7 separate regions of the Homo sapiens genome follow, and regions 2, 3, 4, 5, 6 and 7 are each linked to region 1. Evidence: promoter capture Hi-C in 16 types of primary human blood cells and fetal thymus (Javierre and others, 2016). All regions are on one chromosome and are shown on one strand. Each heading gives the region's core, a stretch centred on a gene start or on the middle of the fragment in contact. The rest is flanking DNA. Distances are from core to core; before and after follow the strand shown.

Region 1 (2,786 bases), core at 34-2,533:
AAGAATATTTGAGAGAGAACTGTGTGAATAAAAGCAGTGATGTGAAGGTGTAGTACAGGCATGGAAATTGTGAATACTAAAATTTGGCAAAACTCTAATGTATTGATTCTGAACTCTGCTTTGGGGTGCTGAAAGGCAGTGAAGCTATTGTAGTGGTTCCCCAAACTACGGGCCAACTACAAAAAGGAATGAAAAATGTCTTGAATGTATATGTACAACAATTCAAAACACATACAACCACTTTTTATTACAACATAAATCCATTAAAAATCATTACTGAATTCCCAATTTGTTATGTATTTTCTAAATCAGCAAATACCAAGGGTGTAACTACTATAGTGAGCTAGTCCAACAAATTTTTTGGTGTTAAAAAAGGAGTGCTGTATGTCAAAAAGGTTGGTGGGTTTTGGAGTTAGACAAACCTTGATCTTAAACTCTGTCACTATTAATTAGTTGTGTGGGACTGGGCAACTCTGAGTTTGGTCCTTCATCTCTAGAGCGGTGGTTATAAAACCAACCTTGCGTTTTTTGACAATTAGAGAAATATATGGCATGTTTTAGATGCTCAGCAAGTGGGAAGTATCACAAAACGAAAAGCTGAGGTCAAATCAGAGTCCACCTTGAACACCAAGCTAAGGAACTGGTACTTTTTCTTTGAGCACATAGTTACAGAAGGTTTTGTCTGAGTGACAGGAAAATCAATAAGTAAGTTAGAAGGTGATTGCGTTGGTCTAGGTGAGGCATTATGAGGCACTGGCATTGAATTTCTGGGATATTTCAGAGTATTGACTATAGGACTCCACATCTACTTGTATATGAGGAATGTGAGATTAAAAAAAAGGTCGCTAGTTTGATCTAACTGTGCTGTTAACAACAATAAAAAGTCAACAGAGATGTAAAGGTCAGTTTTGGACATTTTGAGTTTAAACTCCTACAATTATCGTGGCTGAAAAAGCAGCAAACATGATGTCTGTTGAAAACAAGGCTTTAGGAATTTTGCTCATTCTTTAAAAACCTACGAATTTTAAAAATCAAACTTTAAAAAACTTTTTGTTTTTTTTTTTAAAAAAACGGCAGCGTAATACAATATTTGGACACGCTATACTATGGGCTTTGAAGAACGCCTGTCCAGAACACCCAACAAGCTCCATTATGTCAAACGCTCCCGCGCCTCTGTGATGTCACCACGACGCGCTGGGCGCTCTGCGACTTGGCAGACGTCGTGCGTCATTACCAACGAGGCGCAGGGGTCAGGACGACTCTCGGCAGCGCCATTGCGCGCCCTCTAGTGGCAGCCGGTTTTGAGGCCGGCCTCCGGCTTTGAAGTTCCTCACCGCGTCTCCTTCCCTCTCCCCAAAGCCTGGATCACCGCCCAGCGTCAGGCGAGGGGCGACGTCTCGAGGTAAAACGGAGGAGGTGCGGGACGCGGAGACTGCGCGGGCCCGGTAGCCCTGGAGAGGCCGAGGCTCTAGGCCGCGAGGGGCGGGTGCAATGGCGGAGGAACAGGTGAACCGCAGCGCCGGCCTGGCCCCCGACTGTGAGGCCTCGGCGACTGCAGAAACTACGGTTTCCTCAGTGGGGACCTGTGAAGCCGCTGGCAAGTCACCAGAGCCCAAGGACTACGACAGCACCTGCGTGTTCTGCCGGATCGCGGGGCGGCAGGACCCGGGCACCGAACTCCTGCACTGCGAGGTGGGCGGCGACGCGCGGCCGGGGGTGGGTGAGGACCTGGCCGCCCCTCGGAGCTCCGGCAGGGAGGCCTCGCCGTTGTGGAGCGGGTGCAGAGGATCCCGATCGCTACTCAGCTCGCAGAGGCAGGGCCGCTCTGTGTGGATGGGGCTCGGGGAAGCTGGGGATACGCCCACTACGGGCCTTTCTGCAGGGTCCGGGTGCTGATGACAGACTCACTCCTAGGGGACTGACAGGCAGTGGCTCCAGCGGTATCTTTGCTGTTCCCAGGGGCAAAGAGTGAATGACAGGGCCGAATGCTTTGGCCTATGTTTGCAGGTACCCAGGTAGTTGGTACAAATAACATTTTGTGGCCTCTGCTTTTATTACAAGGATTCTTCTCCACCTTCAAGATACTGATTTTAAATCCTGCACACTCTAATACCGATACTGATGAGAAAACTAGTAGAAAATAGGTAATGATAATTGTGGAAAGCTGTTTGTTAGATTGGCAGAAAATAGGCTGGAGGGAGTGGGTCTGAGGTCAAACTATTATTGAATTGCCTCTGAATTCCACTGTCAGTTGGGATGCGTGGACATTTTCAGAGCATGAAGACTTTGCCCAGATATTTTTAAACGGATAATCTGGCACACACTTTATTCTGTTGGTTTTACTTGTCCATATAGAAACAACTTTTTGAGAGAATTAGCTCCAAAGATTGTGTCTTTTGTAGTAAACATTCCTTTATTTTTTAAAAAATAAATATAATTCCTTCTAAGCACCTTGTTTTGGAGGTTTTTGAGCAAGATAAGGGACAGTCTGTGTCCCGATTTTACAATCTAAAGGGCGGAATGTATACAGAGGAGGTAGCCAGTTACAATGCCTCGTGCTGTGGTCAGGTGATTTTACAGTATTTTGTAAGCTTGTGGGAGGAGCATCTAACCCAGCTCTGAAGAATTAGGGAAGGCTTTCCAGAGGAAATGAGACATGAAGAAATAAGTAGGAGTTGATCAGATGAGGAAATGGAGAGAATAATGTCCCAGGTTGAGAGACCCCCCGAGAGGTTCAGTTTGTGTGATAGAAAAACTAACAGAAATTGTCTAACTAGTGCATAGAG
Region 2 (2,877 bases), core at 303-2,802, 600 kb before region 1:
TCTTAATCTGCTAAACTCGCACTTTTTCCCTACAAGAGCCCACTGCTCTGGACAAACCCATGAAGCTGTGGACATCAAACATGTTACTGGTCATCCAGACTCTGTGTTTCACCTAAATCTACCCCTATGGTGTAAGTGAACTAGAGAAACAAAGGCTTGATTCTCTAGCACTAAGATGTGCTAACTTATGTTAAGAACTTTTATTTTAGGATGTACATAAGTTAGAATTAAGTTCAGCTGTTAGTAATAGCGATCTACTTAGAGTGACTTAAACAGTTTAAATGTCTATTATCTTACTTTTTCTTTTTTTTTTTTTTACAGGAGACAGGGCCTCTTTCTGCCCCCCAGTCTGGAGGGCAGTGGAGCAAACTCTTGGGTTCAAGCCATCCTCCTGCCTCAGCTTCCTGAGTAGCTGGGATTACAGGAATGTGCCATAGTACCTGGCATATTCTCTTTTTTTTTAAAAGTTGAGAGGTATTTTTTACAGGTTTGGTGTGGTAACTGTTTGTGTTAACCCATTTTGTACTGCTGTAACAGAATAGAACAGACTGAGTAATTTATAATGAACAAAAATGTATTGGCTCATGGTTCTGGAGGCTGGGAAGTACAAGGTTGAGGGGCTGGCACCTTGCAAGGGCCTTCTTGCTACATCATCCTAGGGAGGAAGGGCAAAGGGTGGGATGAGAGGGAGGGAGACAGAAAGAAAGGGCAGGAGAGAGGGAGAGAGAGAAGGAAAGTGAGAGAGAGAGAGAGAGAAAGAAAAAAGAGAGAGAGAAAGAAAGAGAAAAAAGAGAGAAGAGAGAGAGAGATTGAGAACAGAGAGCCAAACTTATCCTTTTGGAAACCACTTCTGAAATAACAGCATTAATCTATTCATGAGGGCAGGGCCCCCACAGTCTAATTATCTCTTAAAGTTCCCACCTTTCAATACTGTTACAAAGGAAATTAAAATTTAACATAAGTTTGAGAGGGTACAAACATTCAAACCATAGAACCCTACAAAAATCTCACAGACCTAGACTTATTTCTTGCTGTTCTGCCTTCTGTTCTCAAGGTCACAAGAGGGCTGATAGAGCTGTAACTATTCACTTCACGGTGGAAGAAACAATAAGGAAAGAAGATATGATCCTCCTTTCTAAAGTGCCTTCTGGAGGTACTTTCTATTTTCCTCCCATTACCCTGAGCCTCATCATATGGCCAAACCAGAGAGGCCGGGAAATGTAATTTCACAGCTGAACACAGTTAAGTTTCCATTATAAAGAAAGAGAACGAGAAAGGATATTAGAGGCAAGAAGCTGTTCCTGTCACAGTTAGCATTAAAACTAAAGTTAGAGAAGAAAATTTTCTCTTTCATTTAATGTTCTATAAAGCAACATTTATTGATGAACTCACTGTCCTAGACACTAAGGATTCAAAAACCGAAATGACACAGTTCTTGTCTTCAGAATATCACAGTCTAATGGAGAAAATACGTGTTCATGTCCATAGATGATTACATACTAGATGTACCCCTAGATTTTTATGAGAACAAGTAAGATAAACTCCCCACTCAGACAAGGGTGAGGAAAAGGAAGAAGGCTTTATGGAAGTCACAGAAGAAAAATACGGAAAGAAAGTAGACTTTGGTGACAATGTATTGGGCAGAGGTCAAATAAAGATAGAAAATACGTCCATTGGGTTTAATAACAACAGAGGCCTTTAGTGAGCTTGGGGAACACTGTTTCAGGGGAGTGCAGGAAATCAAATCCAGTGGGGCAAAATGTGACTATTAATGATAAAGTTGAGAGGGAAAATACAGAAAAGTCTTTAAGAAATGTAGTTATAAAGAGGAAAAGAGAAGGAAAATGGCAGCTAACAAGGTCTAGGCTAGGGAATGGTTTTTTTAAGGATAAGAAACATATGAGGATACTTCAATACCACCGAGAATGTACAAAAAGAGGGACAGAGACAGATATACAAATAAAGAGAGGAAAGAGAGCAGGTGAGCTTATCCTCTGAAATGGCAGAAATCAAAGTAAAATCTAATGCCAAGGCAAGTGATATCTAAGACAATGATCATAAAACTGAGACGTATCTGAAGATAATCTCTATGTTTTCTGTGAAGTAGAAGTCCCAGTTCTGACATAGCAGTAGAGTCAGGGAGAAGAGTGATACATGCAAAAGAGTGATATGCTTTACATTAGCCATTACTAGCAATAAGAAAGACAGGGATGGGTGAAGAAAAGAAAGAAGAGTAGGAAGTAGGAAAGGGCATGCATATTATGAAAATCTTTTCTCTCACCTCTGTCCCCAGTCCCCACCACAGAGGCAATTACTGTCACTAATTTATTGTGTATTTTTCCAGAGGTATTCTATTCCAATACAAGCAAATATCTATATTTATCCCTTTTTACATTTTTACATATGGTGCATACCATACACATTTACCTTGTTTTGGATAATTTAAATATACATAGGTATACTGCTACTCTCCCAATCCCTGAGATACCATCATTAACTCCTCCCTATCTACAAACAAGATGATCATGTCAGAGATGTTAACTGTCTTGCTCAAGATTCTTAGCTGACAAATAAGTAGTGAAGCAGGAAAAACAGATTCCACCATTATATCCATATAATAGATCTGTATTACATTTGGAACTGTTCTCTCAACCAGAAATTAAATCTAAGAGAAAAATACACTTGGAAATTTAACCTCAGAGTGAGTGACTTGAATGCTCCAACTATGCTGTCATCATCATGAAATATTCTACTGCTGTGTTCTATTACTGTTTTGAAACTGTGTCAAAGACCAATTGATAGATAGTCCAGTCAGAAGATCTCAGCTGTGTATGGATATCAAGAGGCACTTAGCTCTAGGAAGGTAGCCTTCTTATG
Region 3 (3,187 bases), core at 523-3,022, 580 kb before region 1:
TACTTGCTTTAAATGCTCTCATATATGTGCATATTGAGTAAGTCTAAGAGTAAGATAAGATTTTTTGAAATTCTAGAAGCAGGAAATAAATGTTTTAAGATCCTTGACCATTTAAGAAAGTTGGAATATATACAAAATATAAGTTTTAGTAGTTTTAAAGCAAATCTAAAATGATTTTTTTAGTTTGAAGAACAAAAGTAGGTTATATAAAATGATTTTTTTCCAGAAATTTTTAATTTTTGGTATTCAGAGATTGACAGTTCGGGTGCCATATAAGCAAGGAAGAAAAATATTTTTCCAACATATTTCACGGGAGAGATGGGAATTGGAGGGAAAGTTTTAAAAAATATTTCTCCCCAACTTTTCTAATTTCATTTTTGTTGTGCTCTCATAAAGCCCAGCCCAGTGTCCTGTCTTTTATAGCTTTTCAACGAATATATGTTGCACAATTATTTTGTCAGTGTGAGGCAAATTCTTGATGTAGAAAACACCTCAAATGTATTGTAGAGCAAAATGTTGTATTAGTTTATGAGACTGACGCACTGCCTACCGTGATAAGAAGGCACCATTATTTTATTAGTTTAAAGCTAAAAAATAACCATATGATTACATGGTTTACAATTAACTCAAACCTTTTCATCCTCAAAAGCGCAAGCTTTCTTTTTAGAAATGAGTAGTGCTTGCCTTCTATTGTTCAAAATTTAATGGAAATGATGACATTGCTTTATTTTTTAACCTGTTAAAAAGATAGTTTTTATAAAATTGCTTCATTATTTTATAACTCTAGAAATTCTATATTATTAAATTACTTACAATATGACTTGCTCTTACTTAGCATAGTTGGAGAAATCAATGGTTTGCTTCATCCGTAGGTACAGGACAGAGGGATAATGCTATGGCAGGCGTAATGAGAGTCTGGGCAGATCCCAAACCAAGGAGTAAACATAGTTGCAGAGGAGCTATGATCAGAGCATTGGGTTTATTTTGTGGTCCAGGAGGTGGAGAGTTAGAGGTCAGCCAAAGTTGATTACTAGGAGCCAAGCGGGGGAAGTGCCAGAGACATGACTGGGAGATGGAGTGGAAAATCCGCAACCTGTGACACTAACCCAGGAACTGAAGGCAGGAACGTGGGAAGCCCAGTAAGTCAGACAGCTCTTCTTCAGTCTAGCAACGCAATTTTAAAGACCTGGCCATGTACTTCTATGCATCGTTTTAAAGGCATTGCCAAACACCTAACTACTGGAATTAATGGATTTTAGTTTGGTGAGAAAGTAGACATTTTTCCAAAGAATTACGGGTGTGTTCAATGAGATCAATGACTGCACTTGTATTAGTTATCCATTGTTGTATAACAAATTAACCCAAAACTTAGCAGCTTAAAACAGCAAATATTTATTATCTTATCATTTCTGTGGGCTAGTAACTCAGGCATAACTTAGCTGGGTGTGTCTGGCCCGTGATATCTTAACAAGGCTGCAATCGAAGTGTTAGCTGGGGCTGCAGTCATCTCAAGTAGGAGAGTAGGAGAAGATCCACTTCCAAGAACACCAGCCTGGCTGTTGGTAGGACTCTTTGCAGCCTGTTGGCCAATGATCTCAGATCCTTGCCACATGGGTCTTTCAGCAGGGCCGCTCACAATATGGCATTCAGACCTCCCTCAGAGTAAGCTAGAGAATGAAAGAGAGCGAGAGGGAATGGGCAAGATAGAAGTCATAGTGTTTCCGACCTCATCTCGGAAGTGACATCCCATCCCATCCCTATTGCCCTCTTCCATATGTCAGAAGCCAGTGGCCATGTGCAGCCCACACTCAAGCAGAGGGGATTATACAAGAGTGTAAATGTTAGGAAGTGAGGGCCATTGGGAGTCAACTTAGAGCCTGCCTTCTGCAGCACTCCACAAAGAATTCTGTATCATTAGGTATTTTAGAACTGAATAGACAACAGATGATCATGTAAGAAACAGGTATTCACCTGCTGGAAGGCAAGAACTGCCATTATCTTAAAGTTTCTTTCACACCTATGACTATATTCTCTGAAATGAAATGGGTTCTTTGTATATTTTTCATAAATTTTGTCTAACACACAATGGTAGTTCAACCACCATCTCATCTATTGTCATATAAGGACCAAAGTCTGGCTAAACTTTCCCTAAGCAGTGGAACAGTAGTTAAGAGAAAGACTGCCAGGATTTGATCCCAGTTTTTTACTTACTAGCTGCTTGATGTTGTTGCCTCAATTTTCTGTTCTGAAAAATGGAAGCAATAGTTTTACCTCACTCATAGTGTTCTAAGAATTAAATTAAGTGTCTAGTACAGTCCCGGGTACATGTTATATGATCAATAAGAGTGAGCTAACTAAAGAAATTTGACCTGTCCTCTATTGACAACTTTTTTGGGAAAAGGAAATTCATATTTTTCATATGATTTCCCATATGTCAGCCACATAGATATTTTTTGTTTCCCTACTTCCTAAGATCTTCATCAAATTAGTCATGCCGTTATTGGTATAAAACTCTCCAACAGCTAAGCACAGTGGCAAGACAATAAAATGTATGTGATTTTAGAGCCAGTCAAAGAGATTGGGACTTCAATTATCTATTTCATATTCTAAGGCTATATCAAGTCCTTCACTCTTTTATAATATATTTATATTTCAGACATTATTTACAGGTATTTGTCTTTTCACTCTCCATGAAACAGCTAGAATTCAAAATAGAAAAATTCCTTTGATGTCTTTTTAGTTCATTCTTTATAGCCTTTGATTTTTTAAATTAAAAAAGTATGCTTATTCTAGAAAAATGAGAGTTCAGCTAAGTAAAAAAGAGAGAGAAAAAGAAAAAGAAAGACATATATGGATTATCCCAATGTTAGTGATCTCTTAGTTGATTTTTAAAGCTTTGGATTTTTAATTTTTTAAAAAATGTATACTTATTTTAGAAAAATAGAGAACATAGATAAGTAAAAATACAGAAAGAAAAACAAAGGAATATTCGCTCATAACCCTAATATCCATAGGAAGCCATGACTAACTTAAGTCTATCTTTCTAGGTATTTTTCTATGCATATATAAAAAATATAATAATAAGAAAAGGCCTGGTGGCTCACGCCTATAATCCCAGCACTTTGGGAGGCTGAGGCAGAAGGATTGTTTGAGCCCAGGAGTTTAAGACCAACCCTGGCAACACAGC
Region 4 (2,993 bases), core at 347-2,846, 690 kb before region 1:
CTGAGACAATTTAAAAGCTGGAGGAGGTGCAGATAGTGTGTGGCATCCACAGCTCCTACAATTCTCCAGTGTGGCCAGTTAGAAAGCTTGATGGAACTAGGCGGATGACGGTAAACTATCAGGAACTGAATAAAGTAACACCCGCTTTGAGTGCAGCTGTACCGTCAATCATGGATTTGATGGACTGCTTGACAATGGAACTGGGACAGTACCACTATGTGGTGGACTTGGTCAATGCATTTTTCTCCATCGACATTGCTCCAAGAGCCAGGAACAGTTTGCCTTCACGTGACAAGGGCAACAATGGACTTTTACAATGTGGCCGCAGCGCTATGTGCATAGCCCCACCATATGTCATGGTCTTGTTGTCATGGATTTAGCCACTTGGCAATGTGCAGAAGGGGTCCACCTATTCCATTATATTGATGATATGTTAACCTCTGATTCTCTTGTAGATTTAGATGTGGCGGTGCCTCTCTTGCAGCAACATTTGGCAGCATGCAGTTGGGCCATCAATGAATCCAAGGTCCAAGGGTCTGGATTATCTGCCAAATTATTGGAAGTTTCCTGTCTAGGTAAGATGATGGCCATACCAGAGGCTATTATTGACAAAATTCAGGCATAGCCCTGGCCCACCACGGTGAAGCAGCTACAAACTTTTGTGGGCTTCCTGGGATACTGGGGGGCATTTCTGCCCCATTTAGCTCAAATGACAAAACTGTTGCACGGTTAACAAAGAAGAGAGCTACCTGGAATTGGGATATGGCTGAGACCGCTTTCCTGGCAGCCAAGTGGGCTATTCAGCAGGCACAAGCCCTATGGGTAGTTGGCCAGGGGCACCTGTTTGAGCTGGATGTGCATGTGAGCACAGATGGTTTCAGTTGGGGCCTGTGGCAGCATACAGAGTGCCTGAGAACACTAGTAGGCTTTTGGTCTTAACTGTGGAAAGGAGCTGAGCTCCAACAGTCCTTGATAGAGAAACAGCTAGCAGCTGTATATGCAGCATTTCAGTCTTGTGAAAGTGTGACAGGATGGGCTACAGTCATCATGTGGATGGCTTACCCAATAGTGGGATGGATGTGTTCATGGATAATGCCCCCCTGGACTGGGATGGCACAGACATCTACTTTGGCAAAGTGGGGCACCTACTTGGAGCAGCAAAGTTTGCTGAGTACAAGACCCTTGGCAGCAGAATTGCAAGAGGTCTTGGGACCTATAGTCCTAATGCAAGAGAAGGCTATAGGGCCTGGGGCACCCCTAGACCCCAAGCCATCACCGTTTAAGGAAGGGTACCCCCCATTCCTGATGGGGCATGGTACACAGATGGGTCTAGCCAAGGATCTAATGCTGCCTGGACCGCTGTTGCAGTCCAACCTAGTACAGACACCATATGGTTTGAAACCAGGTGTGGGCAAAGTAGCCAATGGGCTGAACTTACAGCAGTATAGATGGTGATCACTAAGGAGCAGATATCTATGGTGATTTGTACCGATAGCTGGGCAGCCTACCGAGGCTTAACCTTGTGGTTAACTACTTGGAAAATACAAAATTGGCTAGTCAGCCACTGACCTATGTCATGGAGCCAAGTGATGTGGCAAGACCTCTGGGAAATGGATCATCAGAAAGATGTAATTATTTATCATGTGTCAGGCCATATGCCTTTGGCCACCTTTGGCAATGATGAGGCAGATGTCTTGGCCAAGGTCCAATGGTTAGTCGGCACCAACACAAGATGTGGCCTTCTGGCTACACCAGAAACTGGGACATGCCAGGGGCAAACTGATGTAACAGGGCAATAAGTGTTGGGGTCTGTCCCTGCCCATGCAAGGTATTTGGGAGGCTCGTCAGAAATGCCCAGTATGTGCTTGGTCATACCCTAAATGGAGGCAGCTGCCCACTTTTACACAAGTGACAACAGGGCGAGTGATCTTGACCAGGTGGTAAGTAGACTACATCGGTCCGCTGCCAAAATTGCAAGGGTATACACATGTGCTAACAGCTGTGGACATGGCCACAAGCCTGTTGTACATCTACCCTTGCAGGGTGGCCAACCAACAGCACATCCTCCGGGTCCTGCAACACTTATGTGCCCTGTATGGTTGCCCTCTGGCCATAGAGAGTGATAGAGCACCCATTTCACTGGACAACAGGTACAACAATGTGCACAACAAATGGACATAAAGTGGGGATTCCATGTGCCATACAACCCACAAGCTGTGGGTATGATTGAGCAATATAAAGGGCTCTTGAAGAATGGGTTACACTTGCATGTCACACCCGTCTTTGCAGTGCTGGAGTTCCAAGCTGGACCTGGTGGTTCAAACCTTGAATGAACAGCCATGGAAAGACCGCCCAGCCCTGGTGGAGGCTTTATTACACTGGGCCACCACCCCTATTCAGTTGCAGATACACACTAAGGATGACCTCCTCCGACCAGGTATGGGGACGAACGGTAACCTTTTGTTGCTTGCCCCAATGCCCCTGAAGGGAGGGGAACAGAAAACCTGGCTCTGGCCATGGACCCTCCAGGCTCCCCACTGCTGGTGGTTGGCCGTTGTAGCTCCCTGTGGGGAAGACCTACAGTATGACTTGCATGTCACTCCTTGGGCATTCAATACATGTCACCCTTGGTTGATTGTTCTTAGGGCAACAGCCAGGGAAGAAACGCTCCTCTGGGGGACATAAGTACTGTCTGTGTGGCCTATTATGAGCTTCCCCTTGACTTTGGCATAGATACCGGACCCATAGGAACCATGGGGAGCTGAGAAGGTGTGGTACCATCGCCCAGGGCAGAAGCTCTTGGCAGCTGCATTGTTATCCATGGATGAAAAGTTAGCCTGTATTTTGCCTGAGGGACGTCACTTACCTCTGTTAGTAGCTGTGCCTGCTCTGTCATTTTGGCCATAGGTTAACATGCTCCAACTGCATTGTAAACTGCGCCCACACCTGTGCTGAGGTGATCAATGTTTCCAACTTTCGGGTCTGCACTGCCC
Region 5 (3,070 bases), core at 240-2,739, 630 kb before region 1:
AACTTGTCATTTAAATTGTGGTTCACAGAGCCCTATGGAGAGGACTTCACATCACCCAGAAGTCCTGGACTTGAGCTGGATACAGTAACTCAATGGGACTAGAATTGCCTCCCATGGAAAAAGGGCAAAGTGTTCTACATATCACAGGATGAGCAAAACAAGTGTTTGGTGTCCATAAATGAAAGACAGGCTGTGGCTAGGACTGGCTAAGTGTTCACCACACTCTCTTTTTTCTCCCCTGGGCACAGAGCTGGGCTACATTTTCTAGCTTCCTTTGCAGTGAATGCAGCTGTGTGACTGTAGCCAGTGGAATATGGGCAGAAGAGATGTGTGCCACTCCTAAGTTTGGCCCATAAAATGAACTTCCCTGTTATCCTCTATTGCCTCCTCTTCACCTATCTGATAGCAGATGCAACAAATAGTATCAGTGGACTCAGAGGACCAAAGTGATGGAAGAGTCATGGACGAATGGAGCCTGAGACCTGAATCATTGCTAAAAGATGAACTACTTAGAAATGTTGTTCGATAAAAAACATCCTATTGGACTGTTGCATGAGTAAGAAATAAGCTTTTGTTGTATTAAACTACTGAAATTTTGAAGTTGTTGCAATAGCAAATGGCTACTTCAATTAATTCAAGGGCTATATAGAAAAATTCAGGAAAGGGGGTATTACTATTTCATATGCAATGGTCAGAGAAAGTGTCACTTGCAAATAAGTATTTAAGCAGACACCTGAGAAAATGAGAAAGAAAGCTTGGGGGTATCCGGGAGAAGAGCCTTCCAAGCAGAGGGACCAGCAAGAACAAATGCTATATCTAGTGGACACATGTGCTTGGTGCATTTGAAGAAGAGCAAGGAGGCCATTAGTGAGCTGGGGAAGAGTAGCAGGAAACCAGGTCAGTGAGGGCCCAATAGTGTAGGGACATACAGGACCTTGTAAGGACTTCGGATTTTATTCTGAGCATAGAAGCCATTGAGGTTTGAATTAAGATATTTATTTTAAAAAAATCCCACTAGCCACTGGGGTTAGGGGATTGTGGTGGATAATCAAGGATAGAAGCAGAAAGATCACTTGGGAGGGGGCTGTTTAAATAATCCAGGTGAGAAGCAATGACTGTAGCAGTGGAGGTGGTGGGAAGGGGTTGGATTCTGGATTTACTTGAGAACAAATAGGGTTTGCTGAGGGATTGAATGTTCATTGTAAAACACACATACACACACACACACACACACACACACACACACCGCCACACAAAAAAACAGGCACCAAAATGACCCCAAGATTTTTGGACTGAGCAACTAAAAGGATGTAGTTGTCATTACTGACATGAGAAGACTGGAAGTGGAGCAAATTCTTGGAGAAAATCAGGAGTTGGTTGTGGACACATTCAGACTGATGCTTGCCTCCTCAGCCTCATCACCACCAACTTATTCTTCTCTGTTTTCTCCATCCATCTTGGTTTTTCTCACCATCTGAGAACTTCTTCCCTCCTACTACCCTTTCCTAGTTAATTCCTGCCCCTCAATTCAGATATCAACTAAGAAAACTGTTGCTTTCTCCAGGGAATAATTCTTCCTTTATCCTTGGTTGGGATTAGGTCTCCTTGCTGAGTTCTGCCCATCACAGCTTCATCTTAATTCCTTGTTTTGTCATTTTCTTCACTGAACTGTGAGCACTGTGAAGGCAGGAGTCCCTTTTGTCTTCATGTTCATCATCATGACTCCAGCTTCTAACACAGAGCTTGGTATGTGCTAGGTGCTCAAAAAATGTTTGCTGAAAAAACGAGTGAATAAATGAATGAATGTATGAATGAATAAGCACACTATGTCCCCTTCAAGAGACTTCTTCCAGAGAAATTCTGGTAAAATCTTAACTTTAAGCATGCTTAAACTACTGAGCAAGCAGCTTTTCCGGAGCGATTAATATTTATCTGACATTAAAAACTTTGTAACTCAAATATTTCACTTTTTTTTTTTTCTGGAGACAGTGTCTCACTGTGTTGCCCAGGCTGGAGTGCAGTGGCACAATCATAGTTCACTGCAGCGTTGACCTCCTGGTCTCAAGAGATCCTCTCGCTTTAGCCTCCCAAGTAGCTGGGATTACAGGCACATGTCTGACCATGCCTGGCCAAAAGTTTCACTTTTTACATTAACTACTAAAAACTTTTGGGCAAATACGTGACCCACCAGTAGCCTATGTGGAGGTCCTTATGATATACATTTTAAGCTTTGTTCCTGCTTGTTTTCTGTGTCATTCTTGTTTTTCCTCATTTGTTTGTCTAACTTTATTATATGCTTTCTCATCATTTGTATATCCTTGTAAGCAATTTTTTGCGCATTTAATGTATTTTTTATTTTCTAGTAATTTTATTTTTTGGGAGCTTTTTTATTATACAAAAATTAAAACACATCTGAGTGTGGAGACAATAGTATGAGAAATGCCCATGTGCTGGCCACCCAGTGTTAACAATGATCAACACATGGCTAATCATGTTTCAGCCATCTCCCCATTTCCACTCTCATGCTGATTATTTTGAAACAAAATCTAGACATTATATAAATTATAAATATTTTAGAATGTTTCTCTAAAGATAGGGACTCAAAACTATATAATGACAATATTATTCTCATGCCTAAAAATAAGAAATTTCTTATCAAATATTCAATGTTCACATTTTGCAAATTGCCGTGTGTGTGTGTGTGTGTGTGTGTGTGTGTGTGTGTGTATTTAACAATTTGTTTGATTCAAGGTCCAAATACAGTCTATACATAGAGATTGCTTAATAGGTCTCTCAAGTCTCCTTTGACTTCTTGGTTCCCCCTCCTCCTTTTCTTTCTTCTTTTTTTTTCCTTGCAATTTTCTGTTGACAAATTGGGCCATTTGTACTGTAGAGTGTCCTGCAGTCTTGATTTTGTTGATTTCATCCATGAAATGTTGTTTAGTGTGTGTTTCTATGTTTCTTATATTTTTCATAGATTGATAGTTAAATCTAGAGCTTATTCAGATTTGTTTTATTTTTTAAGCAAGATTACTTCATAGGTATGTCCATGTTATTTAATTTCAGTTCT
Region 6 (2,795 bases), core at 161-2,660, 790 kb before region 1:
GTAAGCCTTGCGACATGTCAAGTTGCGGGTGGAGGATGCTCATTTATCAACAGCTTGCTATTTTTGTTCTGTTTTCAAGATGAAGAATTCTATAAAAATCACATGACATGTGATTCTTAAACCAATACAGAATTTTATCACCAGCTCAAACAAAAGTCTGTTCAGATATGTTATTCCACTTGGTGTTCATCCATATTCAGTCATCTCAGGACTTTAAAATAAATAAAAGTCACAGGCTCTGCATGCTTCTTTCCAGAAAGTAGAATCTGTATTCTTTAGATGCTGGCTGAAAGGGCTAATTTCAATGAGTACCCCAAAAAAGAAAGCATTTTATTGCCTCATGAACATTATAATTACTTGTTTACACGAATATGTTTTATTCATTTAACCATCTCCCAACCATACTAGCAGAATAACTACTTTAAGAAAATACCTAGTAAAACTGTTGAAAAAAATGAGCCATCAATGGATTTGTCCTTAAGCGACTCTAGCCATCTCTGTGTTGAATTTTCACGGTTTGAAGCAGCAACTGCAGAAAAGAGGGCATCTGCCTCAGTCATTGATCAGCTGGCATGCTCTCCATGCAGGCAGAGGTTCACCATTACTTCTGTTGCGAAATGTCCCCAACAACACCGTAAAGCCAGTCACTTCTTCAATTTACTGAGTTAAGCTGATCATGGTGGTGAGTGCTTATAGTCCCAGCTAATCAAGGTGCTGAGGCAGTGGGACCACTTGAGCTCCAGAGTTCAAACCCAGGCTAAGCAAAACCCCTGTCTCTTAAAAAAAAGATATATATATATATTTTAACTGTATATATATAGTTTTGTATACATATATAAAACTAAAAGAAAAAAGTAAAACAAGAAAAAATTTACTGAGTTACTACACAGTTAAGAACACATAAAAGGTGACCTCAAAATGTGGATATTCACATCTGTCATCCTACTTTTCATTGAATATTTAAGCAATAAAGTGTAATGATTTGAAATATATGCATTAAATTGAGAAGCATTGTTAATGTACCAGGGAAGGCAGGAGAATATTTTAATGAATTTGAAATGGCTAAAAGGAAGCTTTGGGTCCTCAAGGAAAGATGAATTTTAAGCAATTTCTCACAGTGTGAATCGTTTATAAGTGATGCATTTTGATGCAGAGGAAGTGAAGTTCCCAGAATAAAACCACAAATCTCCAAGAATACCCTTAGTCACCAACATATTGCTTCTTTCTCAAAAGGCAAAAATCTAGCACTTTGCTGTAGCCAGATCATGTACCACACATGAAAAATGCATGTATATGTTACACCTCATCTCCAAACTTACCTATGGTTATTTGTATCTTATACAAATTACAGTTTCCCTGACATATATCTAAAATATGGAAAACTCTTCAACTCCTTGGAAATACATTTTTCTTATAATTAGACATTTCTTTTGTCCATTAATAGCAAGAGCGTCTTGTCAAGGATCATGGAAGCAGAACTGATTCAAGATTAAAAAGATCCGTAAAAGTCACATGAGATGTAATTCTTAGAACCAGTATAGAGTTTTATCACCAGCTGCTAGGAAAAGTCAGTTCAAATATGGAATGGTTCAAATATGTTATTCTACTTGGTGTTCGTCCATACCCAGTAATCTCAGTATTTTAAAATAAATAAGTCATAGGATCTGCGTGCTTGTTTCCAGAAAGTAGGATTTGTATCCTTTAGATGTTGGCTGAAAGGACTAATTTCAATGAGTACCCAAAAAAAGAAAGCTTTTTATTGCCTCATGAGTATTATAATTACTTGTTTACATGGATATGTTTTATTCATTTAACCATCTCCCAAGCATATTCACGGAAGCAGAACTGATTCATTCAAAAGAAAAAGCCAATTTGGGATGGGGGTAGTGGGAGGAGATCTCTTCAGATCTCTCAGTTTTAAAGTCTCTGATGGTTGGATATTTGTAGTTTTTCACTGATTTTTCTCTCTGCATAAAGAGCTAATAGCTCATTGTCTATAAATATTTTCCAACATTTTGTTTTCCAAAATGGACTCATTTCTACATAAAGACGTCATGGAAAGATGGTTTTTCTTCCTGAAGGGTTAGGTCAGCCCTGGGAAGAAGTATAGACCTTGGCTCCTGTTATTCCTCTTTAGATATCCCAGGGTTCCAACAGGAAGTTACAAGATACCTGCACTACCTGTAAAGTTTATTTAAAATGATTGGAAGGCTCTCATAAGCATTGGAGGGGAAGAAAAACTTTTTTTCTACCCTCTTAGGTGAAGTGCCTAGGAGCCTGTGAATTAAACTTACAGCAGACAGACTAGCAGGAGAAAAAGCTTACAAAGTTATTTATTTTAAATTTTGCTTGCACAAGGGTGTCATAGAAAGAAATGAATACCCCAAGGAGTGATGAGATTTGATTTTCTGTATCATTTTACTACAGGAAAGGGAGGTGGAGAAAAGGCAATATTGAGAGAGCAAATGACTTCTTTAAAAAAAAAAAAAAAAGATAAATGGGTCCTTAGGAGAATAGATGGGAGATATGACAGTTTGTGACAATGTCTAGAAGAGAAGAAAGAGTTGCTCCCAGTGGGAGGAATTTGTGACAGCTGAGTTCTTTTGGGAACCTCTGCTTTTAGTCAGATAAAGGATTTCGGGAACTCAAATGCCTTCAGCTCAAAATAACTCTTATGGGCTGGGTAGGGTGGCTCATGCCTGTAATTCCAGCACTTTTGGAGGCCGAGGCAGGAGGACTGCTTGAACCCAGGAGCTCAAGACCAGCCCAGGCAACATAGCAAGACCTCGTCTCTA
Region 7 (2,795 bases), core at 43-2,542, 670 kb before region 1:
CTGCAGAGCCTGGTGGCCAGGGCGGCTGTGACCCCAGTCCCCACGGCACAGAGTCTCTGAATCAGTGTTTCGCAGCCTTCTGGTAGGACAGGAGAGGACTCAGACTGGGGTTTCAAAGAGCAACAGAGGGACAAGGAGTCCAAGCAGGATGGAGATTCAAATTCTAGGTCCTGAAAATGGAGGACTAAATAGGCAGAGGAAAGGAAAACAGGAAGATTAAACATTTCGCAACCTACTCATCTGACAAAGGGCTAATATCCAGAATCTACAATGAACTCAAACAAATTTACAAGAAAAAAACAAACAACCCCATCAAAAAGTGGGCGAAGGACATGAACAGACACTTCTCAAAAGAAGACACTTATGCAGCCAAAAAACACATGAAGAAATGTTCATCATCACTGGCCATCAGAGAAATGCAAATCAAAACCACTATGAGATATCATCTCACACCAGTTAGAATGGCAATCATTAAAAAGTCAGGAAACAACAGGTGCTGGAGAGGATGTGGAGAAATAGGAACACTTTTACACTGTTGGTGGGACTGTAAACTAGTTCAACCATTGTGGAAGTCAGTGTGGCCATTCCTCAGGGATCTAGAACTAGAAATACCATTTGACCCAGCCATCCCATTACTGGGTATATACCCAAAGGACTATAAATCATGCTGCTATAAAGACACATGCACACGTATGTTTATTGCGGCACTATTCACAATAGCAAAGACTTGGAACCAACCCAAATGTCCAACAATGATAGACTAGATTAAGAAAATGTGGCACATATACACCATGGAATACTATGCAGCCATAAAAAATGATGAGTTCATGTCCTTTGTAGGGACATGGATGAAACTGGAAACCATCATTCTCAGTAAACTATCGCAAGAACAAAAAACCAAACACTGCATATTCTCACTCATAGGTGGGAATTGAACAATGAGATCACTTGGACACAGGAAGGGGAATATCACACTCTGGGGACTGTGGTGGGGTCGGGGGAGGGGGGAGGGATAGCATTGGGAGATATACCTAATGCTAGATGACACATTAGTGGGTGCAGCGCACCAGCATGGCACATGTATACATATGTAACTAACCTGCACAATGTGCACATGTACCCTAAAACTTAGAGTATAATAAAAAAAAAAAAATTAAAAAAAACAAAACAAAACAAAAAAAACAAAAAAAAAACATTTCCTTCTTCCTGGGGAAAAGGTTGGCCCTGAGTGAAGTGCTGATCTCTTGGAAGTTTATCTTTTGCATCTTCCCCTCTCCAACCTCCTAGTGACTCTCCCTCCAGGGTTCTGGGGTCCTTATGCTGCTCTACATCAAGCCCCACCTGTACTTTGAAGAATGAATTGGGGGGAGACATTTTTAAAAGGGTACTTGTTAACCTAACTGTATCTCCAATTGACTGAACTTCTGACAATGTGGAGAGAAAACTTGGGGTTAGAAACAATCCAAGGACGGTGGGGTGTACTAGGCATTTCACATGCAGGAGAGGCTCCCCTCACGCCTTGGGGCTCAAAAGGACATTTCTTTAAGGCAAAATGCAGGTGGTGGAGAAGACATCTTTCTGTGATACTTTCAGAAAAATAAAATAAAAATGTTTTTTCTTGGCTGGGTGAAATGTGATTTCACTTTTTATGATAAAAGATAAATTATAATCAAGGATGTTTAATGGCTGCAAATAGATGTGATCCTCTGGGCTAAGAAATATTTTAAAGTGATAAATAGTTGTAATTAGCATTTCTAAAACCAATCAACTGTCATTTTCTATGTAACTAATGCTATTCTAAGCTCAGTGAGTACAGAATGACCCTACTTTCTTAAACCAAAAACCACGATACATGGACTGGAGACAGAGAAAAATAGAGCTTACTATGTGCCAGGCAGTATCCTCATTGCTTTATGTATATTAATTACTTTAATTCCTACAACCCTATAATTATTGCCATTTTACAGATGAGGAAATTGAGGCACAGAGAGATTAATTGCTCAAGATCTCACAGCTAGTAAACAGGGGAGCCACTATTTGAACCTTGGAAGTCTGAAACTTATGTACCAACATTAGACATGAAGTATAAAATGCATAAATTATTACAGAAACTTGTACTGTGTTGAATACTATGTTGAAAAATTTATGTCCGCCTACAACCTGTAAATGTGACCTGTGAATGTGACCCTATTTGGAAATAGGGTCTCGACAGAAGTGATCAAGTTAAGACGTGGTCTTACTTGATGAGAGCGGACCCTTATTCAATAGAGAGAAATTTGGACATGGGTTCTGACGTAGGGCCAATACCATGTGACTACAGGGAAGAGACTGGAGTGATGTGTCTGCGAACCAAGGACTGCAATAACCAAAAGCTAGAAAGAGGCAAGGAAGAATCCTCCTTTTGCTTTTGGAGAGAAATCTTTATCAGGCTTCATTAATTCAACCAATGACATTTATAAGATAGTAAACTTATTACCTCTTTAGGGGTTATCAAGTGTTTTAATTCTCTGTTTTATATTTGTTCAAATTCAAAGCCGTTCTAAATAGCTTTTGTAGCATTTATCTTTGGAAGATACTACTGCAAGTAAATTTTGCAGTAAAGTTTTTCACCAGTTACTGATGGCTAAGAAAATAATTTAATAGATAACTGCCACCATGTCTACAATAATTAGGCACAAAGGTACAAACTATTGTAGAAGTTTTTCAAATTAATAATACAAGAGTGTTTCCCCCTTAGGCGACAATACATGAGGTGCTACTGTTTTTTCTTTTATGAATGAGATGCAACCTAACTC

What was found. Contacts are between HindIII fragments. The CHiCAGO score rates a contact against its expected background, and 5 or more counts as called.
Region 2: a contact is called between a fragment that was not itself captured here and the fragment with the promoter of HINT3 in region 1, in 1 of 17 cell types (total B cells). The highest score is 6.9, in total B cells.
Region 3: a fragment that was not itself captured here is called in contact with the fragment with the promoter of HINT3 in region 1 in 1 of 17 cell types (naive B cells); the score reaches 5.9 in naive B cells.
Region 4: a contact is called between a fragment that was not itself captured here and the fragment with the promoter of HINT3 in region 1, in 1 of 17 cell types (total CD8 T cells). The highest score is 5.3, in total CD8 T cells.
Region 5: a fragment that was not itself captured here is called in contact with the fragment with the promoter of HINT3 in region 1 in 4 of 17 cell types (naive B cells, total B cells, total CD8 T cells and 1 more); the score reaches 9.9 in naive B cells.
Region 6: a contact is called between a fragment that was not itself captured here and the fragment with the promoter of HINT3 in region 1, in 2 of 17 cell types (M0 macrophages and M2 macrophages). The highest score is 5.3, in M0 macrophages.
Region 7: a fragment that was not itself captured here is called in contact with the fragment with the promoter of HINT3 in region 1 in 10 of 17 cell types (naive CD8 T cells, total B cells, non-activated CD4 T cells and 7 more); the score reaches 21.0 in naive CD8 T cells.

What each region holds. Positions count from the first base shown.
Region 1 is chr6:125,955,487-125,958,272 of GRCh38, forward strand. It overlaps HINT3 (histidine triad nucleotide binding protein 3), which reads left to right and starts at 1,284. Exons shown (of 5, transcript NM_138571.5): 1 at 1,284-1,692. The coding sequence starts at 1,492. RefSeq lists enhancers at 1,297-1,396, 2,457-2,506 and a silencer at 1,567-1,786. The HindIII fragment of the contact is 9,214 bases long and covers 1-2,589 here.
Region 2 is chr6:125,351,826-125,354,702 of GRCh38, forward strand. It overlaps LOC107986640 (a long non-coding RNA gene), which reads left to right. Exons shown (of 3, transcript XR_001744328.3): 3 at 322-2,877. Among named protein-coding and RNA genes, the nearest start is that of HDDC2, 51 kb to the left of the region's middle. The HindIII fragment of the contact is 9,886 bases long and covers 1-2,877 here.
Region 3 is chr6:125,379,964-125,383,150 of GRCh38, forward strand. The region is part of intron 1 of LOC102723341 (a long non-coding RNA gene); the gene reads right to left. Among named protein-coding and RNA genes, the nearest start is that of HDDC2, 80 kb to the left of the region's middle. The HindIII fragment of the contact is 2,239 bases long and covers 654-2,892 here.
Region 4 is chr6:125,270,061-125,273,053 of GRCh38, forward strand. LOC124901395 (a long non-coding RNA gene) reads left to right here. Exons shown (of 2, transcript XR_007059736.1): 2 at 456-2,993. Among named protein-coding and RNA genes, the nearest start is that of HDDC2, 30 kb to the right of the region's middle. The HindIII fragment of the contact is 3,024 bases long and covers 85-2,993 here.
Region 5 is chr6:125,329,021-125,332,090 of GRCh38, forward strand. No RefSeq gene overlaps it. Among named protein-coding and RNA genes, the nearest start is that of HDDC2, 29 kb to the left of the region's middle. The HindIII fragment of the contact is 1,474 bases long and covers 753-2,226 here.
Region 6 is chr6:125,164,298-125,167,092 of GRCh38, forward strand. The region is part of intron 1 of TPD52L1 (TPD52 like 1); the gene reads left to right. Among named protein-coding and RNA genes, the nearest start is that of TPD52L1, 12 kb to the left of the region's middle. The HindIII fragment of the contact is 679 bases long and covers 1,072-1,750 here.
Region 7 is chr6:125,288,342-125,291,136 of GRCh38, forward strand. All of the region lies in intron 4 of HDDC2 (HD domain containing 2), which reads right to left. Among named protein-coding and RNA genes, the nearest start is that of HDDC2, 12 kb to the right of the region's middle. The HindIII fragment of the contact is 4,848 bases long and covers 1-2,795 here.